Linked DNA regions of Homo sapiens: all the other regions are linked to region 1. The links are contacts of gene promoters, found by promoter capture Hi-C in blood cells and fetal thymus (Javierre and others, 2016). All regions are on one chromosome and are shown on one strand. The core of a region is centred on a gene start or on the middle of the fragment in contact, and the rest is flanking DNA. Distances in the headings are between cores, read along the strand shown. Region 1 holds the start of KCNK17 (potassium two pore domain channel subfamily K member 17). Region 2 has its middle 14 kb from the start of SAYSD1. Region 3 has its middle 11 kb from the start of SAYSD1.

Region 1 (4,517 bases), core at 1-2,500:
GAATGGCTGGCAGGGAGCATCAAAGAGAGGGGAGACCTGGGCAGAGACTTTGGAACAATCTTAGTGAAAAGAGGATCTCTGCCCTCAGGAAGCTCTCAGCCGAGGGGCAGGCGAGCTGCCTCTCAAAGCTCGCCAGCTCCCCTTGCCTAGAAGTCCAGGGCTGTCTGTGAACAAAGCTTAGGACCTCTTGGGTGTCCTACCCACTTTCCTGAACATGGCCTCCCCTGACCCTCACAGGCCACCCCCTTAACTTCATCACTCCCTCTGGGCTCCTGCCTTCTCAAGAGCCTTTCCAAACACCCCATGGGAAGCCAGAGAGCCAGCAGATCCCAGGATCCTTCCAGAAAGTGAGCTCCATGAACGTCTGGCCTCTCTCAGGAATGCATTCTCCAGGTCTGGCCTTTCCCCTGCCAGACTGCAACATCCCTGACCAGGAGAGATTTAGACCACTCCATCCCGGGGCCTGGAAATTTTGGCCTTTGCCTCTCCCATCATCCAACAGCAAGTGGGCTCCTATGTGGCTGGGTTCCTCTGCACAGGTCTGAGGCAAGGCTGTGGAGCCAAGGCGGCTCCAGGCAGGAGACCCAGGAGAGGCTCTACAGCAGCAAGAGGAGTCCAAGTCACACCCCAGGACTTCCCCATATCCAAGAAAGGACTGGGAAGCTGAGGACCCACGGACTCTTCACACAGCCTAGACGCTTCCTCCACTCCAGGTAGAGGGATTTCGGGGGCCTTCTCAGAAGCAAGGAGTGGACAAGCCTCTTGGTTAAGGCTCCTCTTACCTCCCAAGCTCATGGACAAGTGGCAATCAGCTGGGGTCCCTCTTTTGGGGTACAAAGGAAAGGACAGAGGTGTGGGAGACCCAAGGTGGTCTTGAGATTGACAGACAGCAAGTCCTTGGAGATAGCCCCCGAGTCCAAGAACTTAGGCAGGGGCCCCAAGACAATAAAGTTGGTCTCTACTATCTCCTACCTCTGAGTGCGGTTTCCAGAAGTCCCTCCCATTGTTCATTTCAGGAAATGTGAGGGGGCTCTGGGCCCCTTCCCTCAGCGCCTGCGGTCACCCAGCAGCTTCCTCCTTCTCCCTGGCCTAGGCCTAGCAGGTGGGCACCCCGCACACATTTGAGGCGGGGCCAGATGCCCACAGTTCAGAGCCTCTTTTTGTCCCGGGGATTGGATCCCAGGGCTGGGTGGGGCCAGGCTGTCCCATTCCCCAACACTCCTCCTCCCCGGCGAAACCGGGCACCAGCAGGCGTTTGCGAGAGGAGATACGAGCTGGACGCCTGGCCCTTCCCTCCCACCGGGTCCTAGTCCACCGCTCCCGGCGCCGGCTCCCCGCCTCTCCCGCTATGTACCGACCGCGAGCCCGGGCGGCTCCCGAGGGCAGGGTCCGGGGCTGCGCGGTGCCCAGCACCGTGCTCCTGCTGCTCGCCTACCTGGCTTACCTGGCGCTGGGCACCGGCGTGTTCTGGACGCTGGAGGGCCGCGCGGCGCAGGACTCCAGCCGCAGCTTCCAGCGCGACAAGTGGGAGCTGTTGCAGAACTTCACGTGTCTGGACCGCCCGGCGCTGGACTCGCTGATCCGGGTCAGGGGCGAGCGGCGTCGGCCTGGGCGCGGCGGGATGGGGTAGCGGGCCGCGGGGTGTACGGGCCGAGGGCGAGGGGGCCTATTCAGGCCCTGGTCAGGTGTTTCCTGTTCAGGGAAACGTCGGGAACGCAGACGCGGGCACAACGGGGGTGGGCGTTCCTGCGCGGGGACCAGAGGGTTGGGGGACCTCGGAGGAAAAGACCCTCGCCCTAGCGAGAGGACTGCGAGAAGCCGGGCTGAGTCCTACTTGGGGGCGAGAGGGCATGCTGGCCCGGTGAGGAGGCAGATGCCTGGGGACACATCCAAATTTGGGGGCGAGGACGACTACGGCAGGGGGCGCGCGCGTAACCGGCCCCGCCCGGCCTGACCCGGGAAAGGGCGCGTTTGAGCCTGCTTGGGGGTTGGTCGCACCCGCACCCGTGGCAAAGAGCTAAACGCCACACCTGGCCGCTTCCAGAGGGGGAACCCGGGCGCACGTTTGCGAACTGGGAGCTGGGACGGCAGGGGCGCCGGGTCTAAGGATGCGCAGGAGCGAGGGCGCGGCCGTAGGAGCCTGGGGGAAGGCGCGTTTGTCCCGGAGGGTGGGTGGATTGGGCCCGAGGCGTGCTGGTCGGGGCCACCCTCAACGCAGAGAGGGGGCTCGACGTGCGCAGACCCGGGTTCGAGAGGAGGGCGGACGCAGGGCCGCTCTCTGGCTGAACCCGCTTTACTCCGAGTCTTCGGACACAAGGACTGGGCGCGCCGCCGCCGCGCGGCTGCCCAGAAAGGCTGAAGGCAGGGTTCAGGGGAGGACTCAGAGGTAAATCTGAGCAGAGGCTCCTCAAGGGTGGGGCCTAGCAGGGCGGAGGAGGCCGGGGAGGGTTCTAGGGGTGGCGCATCTTAGGACTGAAGCGACGCCAGACTGGCAGCTGCTCGATTTGGCGGAGGCATTGATGTCCTGGGTCCTGGCTTGGTTCCCCACCCCTTCGTCCAAGAGCCCAGAGTCCAGACAGCTGCGCGCCAGCCCAGAATCCCCGTCTTGCAGTCCTGGTGGCTTATCCGTCCAGAGTCTCCAGTCCAAAGCCAATCCCCGGAAGGTGGCAGGGAACCGTGCCAGGGTGGGAAGGGACCCAGCGCGGAGCGGAAGTGGTGTTCTGAACCCTCGGACTAGGCCGATTCGGTGAGGTCAGGAGGTAGCCAGGGCCAGGCCTATCTCTACTAAGGACCTAAAGTGATTCCTCCAGCTCCCCACCTGCGGACTTCTGCAAATACAGCCCGACTGCTGGGTCCTGGTGCTGAGGCTGCCTGCCATTACCCTTGCAAAGGTGGTGAACTTCGACTACAAGCAGCCTGGGCCCAGGGAGATGGCTATGATGGTGATTATAATAACAGTAAATGCCTCTGTGCAGCACTTATCGTGTGCCAAGCACTGTTGCTGGTACTTTACCCGTATTCATTTGTCTCACCTCCCTCACAGGTGGGTACTGTTTTTATCATCCTGTTTCACCCTCACAGGTGGGTACTGTTTTTATCATCCTGTTTCAGAGGTGAAGAAACAGGCTCAGAGAGGTTACATACGAATGCATGGCTACATAGCCAGGAGCTGGAGCTGTTAACCAGCATAAATACTGCCTCAGTGTGGACCTGTGGATGTGGGTGCTTCCCAAGATTCCCAGCCAGGCTGTCATCTCTTTGGGCTTTCCCTTCAACTCCCTCCACCCCCACCTCACCCCCTTCCTCAACACTCCTGTGGCTTCAGCCAACTCCAGGAATAAGGATGTGGTATCCAGCCCAGATCTTTCTGAGCACCAGATGTGGACATGCAACTTCTGAAATTCCTCAAGGCCAAGAGCAAGTGGTCCTCCTCCTCCCAGCCCTGCTTCTCCACCTGTCCTAAATCTCGATTGTCTGCCCCATGTCCACACACCCTCACAATCCTCTGCAACATCTCCTTTACTGCCCATACTAAATAGGGCCAGAGGCCTGGGCTTCTGAATATCTCCTCTCTGTTCCTCCTGGACCACCTGTGCCAGGAGACAGGCCAGGGCCCGTCTATCACTCACTTCTGCAGGAGTCTCTCCCCTCTGGTCAACCCTTTCTATACTGCCAGCTGCCACAGAGCACACAAACCTGATCCTACTTCCCCTTTGCTCAGTGACCTTGGCTGATACCTGCGACTTCATCCCTGGCATGGCAAAGCCAAGCACAGCTTGGCCTCAATCACTTCTTACCAGTCTCCCTAATCTAGGTCCCAGGCAGTCTCACCTCCCACCTTCTGCACTGCTGTCCCATCTACCTAAACATCCTTCCACCAGAAGCAATCCTACCTGACCCTCAAAGGCCCAGCTAAAACATCCCATTCTCCATGAGGCCTCTGCTCCTACCCAAATGAGAATGAACATCCTTCTTCCCCAGAGTCCTACAACATTATATGCCTATATAATGCATATAGGCAATATAGCAACTGCTAACACCATGTGCCAGGTACTAAGTCTACACATAATACCTTATTTAACACAACAACTCTATGAAGTAGGTACTATTTGTATTACCATTATACAGGTAAGGAAACTGAGGCACAGAGAGAAGTTGAGCACCTTGCCCAGGATTGTGTAGCTGCACTTCCTCCTTAATGCCCAAAGTGACATTGACTGCATCATATTAGAGTTAATTAGGTTTATCTATGTACCACTGAGGGCTGGGGTCATGTCTCTTGTGGTCACGTCCCCTAAAAGCACCACACATCACGCCTGGCCTAGTGTTTGTTGCAGGAATGGGAGTGAGCAGGGGAGAAAATGAGTCGCTGGTTTACTAGGACTCCAACCTGACCTAGCCACTGGGTAAAGGGTGGGGAAGGAGCTGTCCCCATGGTAGCTGTCAGTAGCTGTACCTGGTGAGCCCTTGGTGAGAGGGGTAGAGCCTCCTTGCCCTGGTGGGCTGGGATCGAAGAG
Region 2 (4,517 bases), core at 1,193-3,692, 210 kb after region 1:
GTCTAGATTGCCTCAAACCCATCTTGCATGAGATTTTCTGTGAACAATTTGTCACTTCTAACCTCTTACCAAAGGTGCATGTAATGATGGCATTAACTTCTAGGAAAAATAGTGTGTGAATCAATTAATGGCCTGGCAGGGAGAAGAAGAAAGAACAATAAGTATTTGGTGCTCTGATCAGACCATTAGGTTTTAGGTGCAGCCTTGATTTTCCGAATTTAGGCCTATTGATCTCAGAATTTCCACTCACAGCCTGACCATTAACCCAGCATGCAGCTTCCATTAAAGGATTCTTCTGTCATCAGGGAACTTGAAATCCCAGAGGTAGATGCAGTCACTGTGATAGCTTTATACACGAGTGAAGTCGTTTGTGTCCAAGTCTAACAAGTAACTTGGTTTTTGCTTTTATTCACATTATCCCATCTTGCCTATTGATAGGGACTGTTCAACAAGACTCTACATCTAAAGTTGGAAGGGACCCCAAAATACCATCAAGTGTGTTCCCCACCCCCAACCTTGGGCAGGGCCATCATTTATTCCCAACTAAAGATAATTTGTTTCTAGTGAACCCCTAAAGAAGATTCCAGGTACTTCCTAGGAAGTTCTTTATGTTTACTGAAAGAACTTTTGCCACCCCCATCCCCGCCATCTGGGGTTATTTTGTCTCCTAATCTCAGTGGATGTGGAGTCCCTGGAGGCCTATGTGAGCATCCTTCACACTGGTAAACCTTTACTCAGTTCTCTTTTCTCTCTGCTCTTTAGGCCAAGTCATTGAGCTATACCTCTGGGACTCAATCACTTTCATGCTAGCCCTGACCTATTCTAAGTGTTTCAGGTTTGGGTGGGGGTGAGTGGCCCTGTGGATGGGTATAATGATCTTTCTCAAAAGCTTTGGAGCTTTGCCAGTGATGACTTAGGCATGTGTATTTTGTGCTATTAGAGTTATGCTTTGAGTATAGGCTGTCTTTCACATTTGCCTTTTGACTGATCTGTGCGTCAATCAAAAAGCTCTGTGCTGCAAAATCTTAGAAAGTTACAGAATTGAAAGAACCAGTGACCCTCAGTTGGGCAGAAGACATCAAAATTCGAGCTGTGTGTTTTTAGTTCCTGCCACTCATACCAGCAAATATTTGTAGATGCCCTGGATTTGGCGCTGCTGGGGACACACACATATGAGCTCCTGCATAGGATGAGCGTCCCTAAGAGCCCGGGGATGCAGGGGTGGGGTTGGGATGTCATGAAGCATGTTGCCGCCAGGCGGTGGCGTAGAGCTGCCACTATACCTCACGGGTCCCTTCACATCACACTTGAAAATTTACGTAATGTGGAAAACCCTCTGGGATGTTTATCTCAACCGCTTGTGCTGCTTTTTCAGATGTTTTTTTCAGTTTAAAACTCACAGAGGAAAGGGCCCATCAGAGGTCCTGGGAAAGGCATAGAAAGCTACCAGAAGTGATTTATATATGTATTTAAAAATAAAACAGCAGCCCCTCTCTAGACTTAGCAGGCAGTGTTACAGTTGCTTGCACATAGCTAAGCTTTGCGGGAAGGGGAGGTGGAATGACTAAGAATTTACATAGTTGGCAGAGAAAACCAACTCCCTAAGCCAAAGAAAGTAACTTTTGAACCATATGCTTTGGTTTCTATCACACATAATTTTATTTCACAACTTTGGAGCACTAGGCTACATAAAGACTTGGATCCCATTCTCAAAAATCTGAGAGAGAAGACAAGATGAGTGCACACAAACTGTATTATAAAGTACAGGACATAATGTGAATGTTTATAAAGGTGTAAGGTGTGTGTGTGTGTGTTCAAGGGAGAGATCACTTGCAGTCCTAAATTCTATACTATATAGGATTTTCACTTCTATGTGAAAAATACTCTTTCCTTAACAAGTCATGGATGAACGTTTTGAAAAGTATGGTCTATAGACCACGCACCTGCATAGGAATCTCCTGTAGTAATGTTAAAATGCAGATTCCAGGGCCCCCACTGACTCAGAATGTCTGAGGGTAGAATCCTGAGAATCTGCATTTTAACAGCCTCCCAGGTGTGATCTCTGGCACAATAAAGATTAAGAGCCGCTGACGTAAACAATAAATGTTAAAATAGGAAGAAAATTTAGTGATTATTAGATCCAAGCAAAGAAAATTGGTGTGCATTTTTAAAGGGAGCAATGAGGCTTGCTATTTTTCAAACTGTTCATTTGGAACACCAAAGCGAGAGACGAAGAAACATAGCTTTAAAACAATGAGGAGCTAACTCCAAAGACTACGTGGAAATTAAGTCCTTTATTTTTGAGGTTTTCTCTAAATGATTACAACAAGAAGTACATGCTCATTTTAGAACATTTTGGAAATACAGGAAGGAATAAAATATTGTTGTACTTCTATGCATATATTTTAGAAGCCAAGAGGTACATGGGGTGTATAGTGAGAACATCTCCCTCCACCCTGCCATGTTTGTTCTTTCTCAAGCCTGCAAATGACACCATTCTAAACACGCTATTCTTTCCCTTGCTTTCTTTTTCTTTCTTAGGAGTTTGAGTTTTATTTATGTGCATTTGAAGTTTTTATGTAAGGGAGTGATATGATCCAATTTACTTTTTTTTTTTTTTTTTTTTTTTTGAGAGACAGAGTCTCACTCTGTCACCCAGGCTGGAGTGCAGTAGCATGATCTGCCTCCCAGGTTCAAGCAATTCTCCTGCCTCAGCTTCCCAAGTAGCTGGGACTACAGGCATGTGCCACAACACCCAGCTAATTTTCGTATTTTTAGTAGAGATGGGGTTTCACTATATGCTGGCCTGCCTGGTCTCAAACTCCTGGCTTCAGGTGATCTGCCCACCTCGGCTTCTCAAAGTGTTGGGATTACAGGCATAAGCCACTGCAGCCGGCCCCCAATTTTCATTTCTAAAAGATCATCCACGCTATGGTGGGGAGTAGATTATCTATGTCATTCATTCATCCATCCATCTATCCATTTACAGAGCATCTAAACTTTGCCAGTCCTGGTGCTGGGCGTAGCTCATACAGACATAAGGCAGACAAGGTTCCTTTTCTCAAGGAGCTCACAGCAAATGGGGGAGGTAGCCAATAACCAGACAGTTACAGTGCAGTGTGGTAAGCCACACTGAGTATGTCGTCTGAACGAGGACCACAGCATCAAAAGAGGATCTTAAATCACAGGTCAGGAAAGGCTTCCTGGAGGCAATGACACTGTGCTGAGTTTAAAGGAGGACTAGGTACTCCCCCAAAAAAGAAGGTGGGGGCAAAAAGTAGCATTTTGGTCAGAGAAAACCACCTGGGAGAAAGGTGATAATCATGAAGGAGAATAACAAGCTTGGATGCATTCTGAAGACTTGGATGTTTAGGAACAAATAAAAGGAATTGATGAGAGGCAATTCCAGAAAGGAATATTGAGTGCCTCTTGCTTTTTGAGCAAACAATATTTCTTAATAATTACATCAGCACAAATAGAGCTGCTTCCTGCTTTTTCACAGCTACAGAGTGTACCATTGTATGGATAGATTATAACTCAACAAGTCTCCATTAATGTATATTTAGGTAGTTTCTAATCTTTTGTTGTTGCAAACAATGTACAACAAATATCCTTGCACATATGTCATTTCGACATATGGGAATACTTCTCTGGGATAATGTCTTAGAATTAGATTTGCTGGCAAAAGGATATTTGACTGAAAATGTTGATAGATGTTGCCCTGCGTAGAAGTGATTCTTATTTACATTCCTACCAGCAATGTATGAAAATGCCAATTTCCTCATATCCTCACCAACACAGGGTGTTTTCCCAACTTTCTGTACTTTGCCAATATCTGAGAAGTGAAATGACACCTCATAGTTTTAATTTAAATTTCTTATTATGGGAGAACATCTTTCTATAAATTTGTGAGCCATTTGTATTTATCTGTGAACTCTTTTAGCTTTTGCGTGATTTCTGTTGAGTTCTTGGGAATTTTAAAATTTCATTTAGGAACTCTTCATAAATGAAGAAAATTGGCTCTTTGAATTATGCATTTCAAATATTTTTGCTCAATTTGTTCAAACTTGTTGCCGTTTTTGTTTCTGTGTGGAAATTTTTTGTTGTCAAATTTATGTATTTTATGACCTGGGTTTTTGTCATACGGCAAAAAAATTTCCATGTTTACCCATTGCTTTCATTTTCTATATTTAAGTTTTTTATCTATAGTATTTAGTTTGGAGTGGGGTTACAGATAGGGATCCAGCTTTATTTATTCAGGCATCTATTTGTTCAGGTATCTAGTTCCCTCAGGTTTATTTATTAAATAACCCATCTCTTTCCTGCTAATTTAAAACCCTTCTGTATCATATACCACATTTCTTGTGTATTTGTATCTATTTTGGGCTTTCTGGTCTGTTCTTTTGATCTGACAGCTTTTTCACTTTTTATTATTGTAGCTCTTTAGTGTGTTTTAAAATCTGAATGGGCTAGACACCTCTTTATTACTCTTATTTTTGCTTTCTTTTTTAAAACTT
Region 3 (4,517 bases), core at 689-3,188, 190 kb after region 1:
GATGCACTTCGTGTTGGGAGATTATATCTGAAAGAACCAAAGCCAGGCCCAGGAACAAGGCCTGAGGAGCTTCCTGAAGAAGGAAATGTAGAAGCCAAGTATGTGAGATGAGTGGCACTTGGCATGTGAGGAAGGGAAACAAGTTGGGATGTTTGAGAAACTGTAGTTTAGCATTGCTAAAGGGTGGGGTATTAGTGGTCAGTGGGAAGTAATGAGGCTGGGGCTTGGGAGTGGGGTTTGTGTGGGAAAAGGAAAGGTGTAGTGGCATGATGAAGGTTCCAATCAGAGACTCCCCCCACCACATGTAACCCCTCACTACAGAACACTCCACCATGGAAATGTCTACCATAGAACCCCCAACCATGGAATCCTCCACCATGGGGCCCTCCACCATGGAATCCCTCACCACAGAGCCTTCCATGTCTTTAGCAGCTCTGGGTGAGGAAGGAGCCTGAAGCCAAAGATAAGTGCTATCTAGTTCCCCCTACTATTTGCTTCCTAATGAAGAACTCAGATTCACAGAGGGGCTTAGTCCATTGTCCTGACCAGCTGGATTTCTTCTGAGGTAGACAGAAATCCCTGTGTCTCCTATAGACTGTGGAGACTGTGGGAGCCTGGCTGACAGGCTTCTCAATACCCCTTCAAAGTTATATCAATGACTGCGTATATTTAACCCAAGCCCTATTAAGATAATTGGAAAAAGAGGTTTATTTTGGTTCAAATAATCCCAAAAGAGTGATGGGAGACAGGGGAGAAAGCAGGCGAGGAAGCCATCCCATCAGTTGTTTTTTTTTTAATATGGAAACAATTTCAACTAGCTCAGATGAATAGTGTCTTCCCTAATTTAAAAGCCTATTAAGGCACCAATTCTCAATATGCATTCCAATTCCTTTGGGATAGGAGGATCTTCTTTTCCTCCCGCTGTGTCTTCCCAGGACTTTGGTCATCTACTGAGCTTGGACTATGCCGGTTTCATACCTTTTAAGCTTCCTGTGTACTGCTAGGTACTCCCCATCAGGTCACCTCATTCTATCAGTCTTCTTGTGAGGTATCATCCCCATTTATAAATAAAGAAACAGACAAATAAAAATTAGAAGCTACTTAAGTACTTACTTTTACTGTTTGATGGGTTATCACTTATGGATGTTGGTTTTTGGTGGTGGTTGTTGTTGTTGTTGTTGTTTTGTTTTTGTTTTGAGATGGAGTCTCACTCTTGTTGCCCAGGCTGGAGTGCAGTGGTATGATCTCAGCTCACTGCAACCTCCGCCTCCCAGGTTCAAGCAATTCTCCTGCCTCAGCCTCCTGAGTAGCTGGGATTACAGGTGCACCCCCCACCACAACCAGCTAATTTTTGTATTTTTAGTAGAGACGGGGTTTTGCCATGTTGGCCAGGCTGGTCTCGAACTCCTGACCTCAGGTGATCTGCCTGCCTTGGCCTCCCAAAGTGCTGGGATTACAGGCATGAGCCGCCGTGCCTGGCCTGTTTTTTTGTTTGTTTGTTTGCTTGTTTGTTTGTTTGTTTGTTTGTTTTTGAGACAGAGTCTTACTCTGTCACCCAGGCTGGAGTGCAGTGGCATGATCTCAGCTCACTGCCACCTCTGTCTCCCAGGTTCAAGCGATTCTCCTGCCTCAGCCTCCCGAGTAGCTGGGATTACAGGCACGCACCACCACACCTGGCTAATTTTTGTATTTTTAGTGGAGATGGGGTTTCACCATGTTTGCCAGGCTGTCTTGAACTCCTGACCTCAGGTTATCTGCCCACCTTAGCCTCCCAAAGTGCTGGGATTACAGGCGTCAGCCACCGCGCCTAGCCTGGATGTTGATTTTTACTCATGGAACCACTATTTAGGTCAAGAACTAGAACTTTGTAAACCCCCCTCACCAAATCATTAACTCCTCCCTCCCCACCTCTCTGAAGCCAGGTTCCAAATTTGTACTTTCTCTCTTACTCCATACCACTTCCCTGAGATTCTCTCTTTACAAAAAGGAAATAGAACAATAAGGAGAATGAGTGACTTTCCTATGATTGTGTAGATAACGTCAGAGCTGGGACTTGAACCCATGTGTGCAAAGTCCTCTTATCTTGGTTGACTTCTTCCTCTCAGCTTACCTAAGTCCTTTCAATCTTTCAAGGCCAAATACCATGCTTCTCCGTGGAGTCGTTTAGACCTCCCCTGCCTCACTGATCTCTTCCTCTACCTGGTAAGTTCCTGCTCTGTCTGTCCCACTGATAAGACACTTAGCAATAGTTTCTGGCATTATTTCTCATTTTGCATTCTTGTTTCATCTTCTCCATGATTTCATAAGTTTTTCTGGAACTCGAGGACCACAACTTATACCTGTTTGTCTTCCCAGAACCTTGAAACTGATCTGCACATAGAATAGACAGGATAGTGGGTTCCTGGGCTCTGCTCTGGAGTCAGACTCCCTGGGTTCAAAACCTGGTCCTGCTAGTTGCTTGCTGTGTGACATCAAACTATGGAATCTGCTCACATGCCTTCCTGAAGAGTTGTTGAGAAAATTAAAGTACATAATAATTTTCAAGTGGTCAGCACAGTGTCTGGCACACATTAATCACTCCACAAAGGCCAGATATTATTAGGAGCCCAATTTGTTGTTAATAGTGAATGACTCAACTGGTTCTCAAGGTTAAAATATATATATATGTGTGTGTATATATATATATTTGGGCCCTAAACCCTGGTGTTTAGTCAAGACTCTAGAAGGTCAATGGTTGAAGAGAAATGTAAGGCTGAAGCAGGAGCTTCCAAGGAGGTGGCTAAGCAGGCGATATTTTTCGAGTCAGGAAATATACTTCTCTGGATGTATGTACATGTATTTTAGTGAAATGGCCCATTTCTTCCAAGGACTTTATAGGACAAAAGCTTGCCTTCCTTCTGACTTTATTCCCATACAAAATCATGAGGAAGCAGGCTCTTATAAAACACACAATTCCTATGGTTTTCTTCAGGTGCATTGTCAACCTGCAAAGAGATTCTTCTCCAACTACTTTCAGTTAGTTTGGGGGAGAGTTTTGGGATGGGATTTACATATAGATCATTTTTGTTGCAAGCCTGTGAGCTTTAGGTCATCTGTTCTGCAGGCCACAGGAGGCATTTCTCTGAGTATCAGAGCTAAGCACAATGGAACTTGGACATAAGGCAAGTCAGGTGGTTAGGAAATTGTCAAAACCTAAGATCTTGGAATTTACAGGGAGTTGAGATGTAGAGGAGGAAAATGGAGAAGCTTCAGGTAATAGGATTGGGCAGACTGATGGGGACAAATAGTAGAGACTGTTGAGCTCTTTCAGAACACAAGATCCCAGTCACGGGGGGGTTACAAAAAGGCAAAGTTCAAGCCAGCAATAAGTGTCAGGAAAAGCAGTTGTAACCACAAAGCCAAGAGTAAGTGGGGGCAGAAGGGTCATGAACCATTACCTTTCATGCAAAAGATAATTATAAAGCATCAAACTATCACCAGAAATATTTAATGTCTATAGCAATGCCCATGAATTATATCATCTCATCAGCTTTCCCTCTCTGGGCCTCAGTTTCCCCATATTTGAATCTGAAGAACTCCCAGCTTGAGTTAGTGCCCCTCCTCTGTTCCCCAGACCTCTGTGTTATAACTGTCTATCAGTGAGTCTGTCTCTCTAACTATACCTTGAATTCCTAACAGTAGGACTGTATTTTATTCATGTCTGCATCCTCAAAGCCTGGTCCAGGGCCTGGCATATAACAGGTGTTCCATCAATATTTGCTGACTAAATGGTCTCTAAATTCCTTGGAGGACAGACTCATAGAATGACTGAATCAGTTATTCTAGGACTCTGACCTCTGCAGAGTTCAAGATAAAGTGAGAGCTAAAAAACCTTGCCAGCAGCAGTCCAGCAGCAGCAGTGCAAAGCAGGCTGCTTCAGTTGAAGCACTATAGCCCTCTGCTTCCCATCCTCTCTCTTAACTTCTTTATTACCATTTCCAAATATCTTCTTTGGTGACAGTCTAAAGTCCTGTTTTGCTTGCTTCAAACATCAAGGTAGGGGTTTTGTAAATGTGAAATACCAACCATCCCTCTAGTTTACTTCCCTTTTCTCAGGCAAGTCCATAGGCTTAGGTCTTGCATAGCTCTTAGATTCTCTTGGTAGAAAATCCTGAGCTAAAGATTCAAATGTAAGAAGTTTACTGGGAAAGTGATTCTAGGGAGCACTGATAGGGCAGCAGGGAAGTGAGACAGGAAAGGGAAGAAAGGTGATATAGGGTGTGTTAATGAGCTGTGGGCAACTGAGGCTCATTCCTACCGAAGACTCTTGGGAGACTCTGGGGAACACACATCAGAATCATCCCCCATAAGGAGTGAGGGAGCTAGGGTATTTATCCACCAACTCCCATCTAAAATTGGTTGAAGACTTTTTCAGGGTTGGAGAGGAATAGTCTCCCACCACTACTAATTTGCCTCATGTACTAGTTGAACACACTCCTGCAGCCAGAGAAAGCCCCCAGGTGCTTGTAGAAGCCATC

What was found. The method cuts DNA at HindIII sites, captures the fragments that hold promoters and counts their contacts. A CHiCAGO score of 5 or more calls a contact.
Region 2: a fragment that was not itself captured here is called in contact with the fragment with the promoter of KCNK17 in region 1 in 2 of 17 cell types (activated CD4 T cells and megakaryocytes); the score reaches 5.4 in activated CD4 T cells.
Region 3: a contact is called between a fragment that was not itself captured here and the fragment with the promoter of KCNK17 in region 1, in 2 of 17 cell types (megakaryocytes and monocytes). The highest score is 5.2, in megakaryocytes.

Annotation. Positions count from the first base shown.
Region 1 is chr6:39,311,152-39,315,668 of GRCh38, reverse strand. KCNK17 (potassium two pore domain channel subfamily K member 17) reads left to right here and starts at 1,250. Exons shown (of 5, transcript NM_031460.4): 1 at 1,250-1,585. The coding sequence starts at 1,349. LOC105375047 (a long non-coding RNA gene) reads right to left here and starts at 1,713. Exons shown (of 3, transcript XR_926774.3): 1 at 1,445-1,713. It also overlaps a transcript of KCNK16 not described here. The HindIII fragment of the contact is 16,119 bases long and covers 179-4,517 here.
Region 2 is chr6:39,099,206-39,103,722 of GRCh38, reverse strand. No RefSeq gene overlaps it. Among named protein-coding and RNA genes, the nearest start is that of SAYSD1, 14 kb to the left of the region's middle. The HindIII fragment of the contact is 1,803 bases long and covers 1,541-3,343 here.
Region 3 is chr6:39,123,616-39,128,132 of GRCh38, reverse strand. No RefSeq gene overlaps it. Among named protein-coding and RNA genes, the nearest start is that of SAYSD1, 11 kb to the right of the region's middle. The HindIII fragment of the contact is 1,899 bases long and covers 989-2,887 here.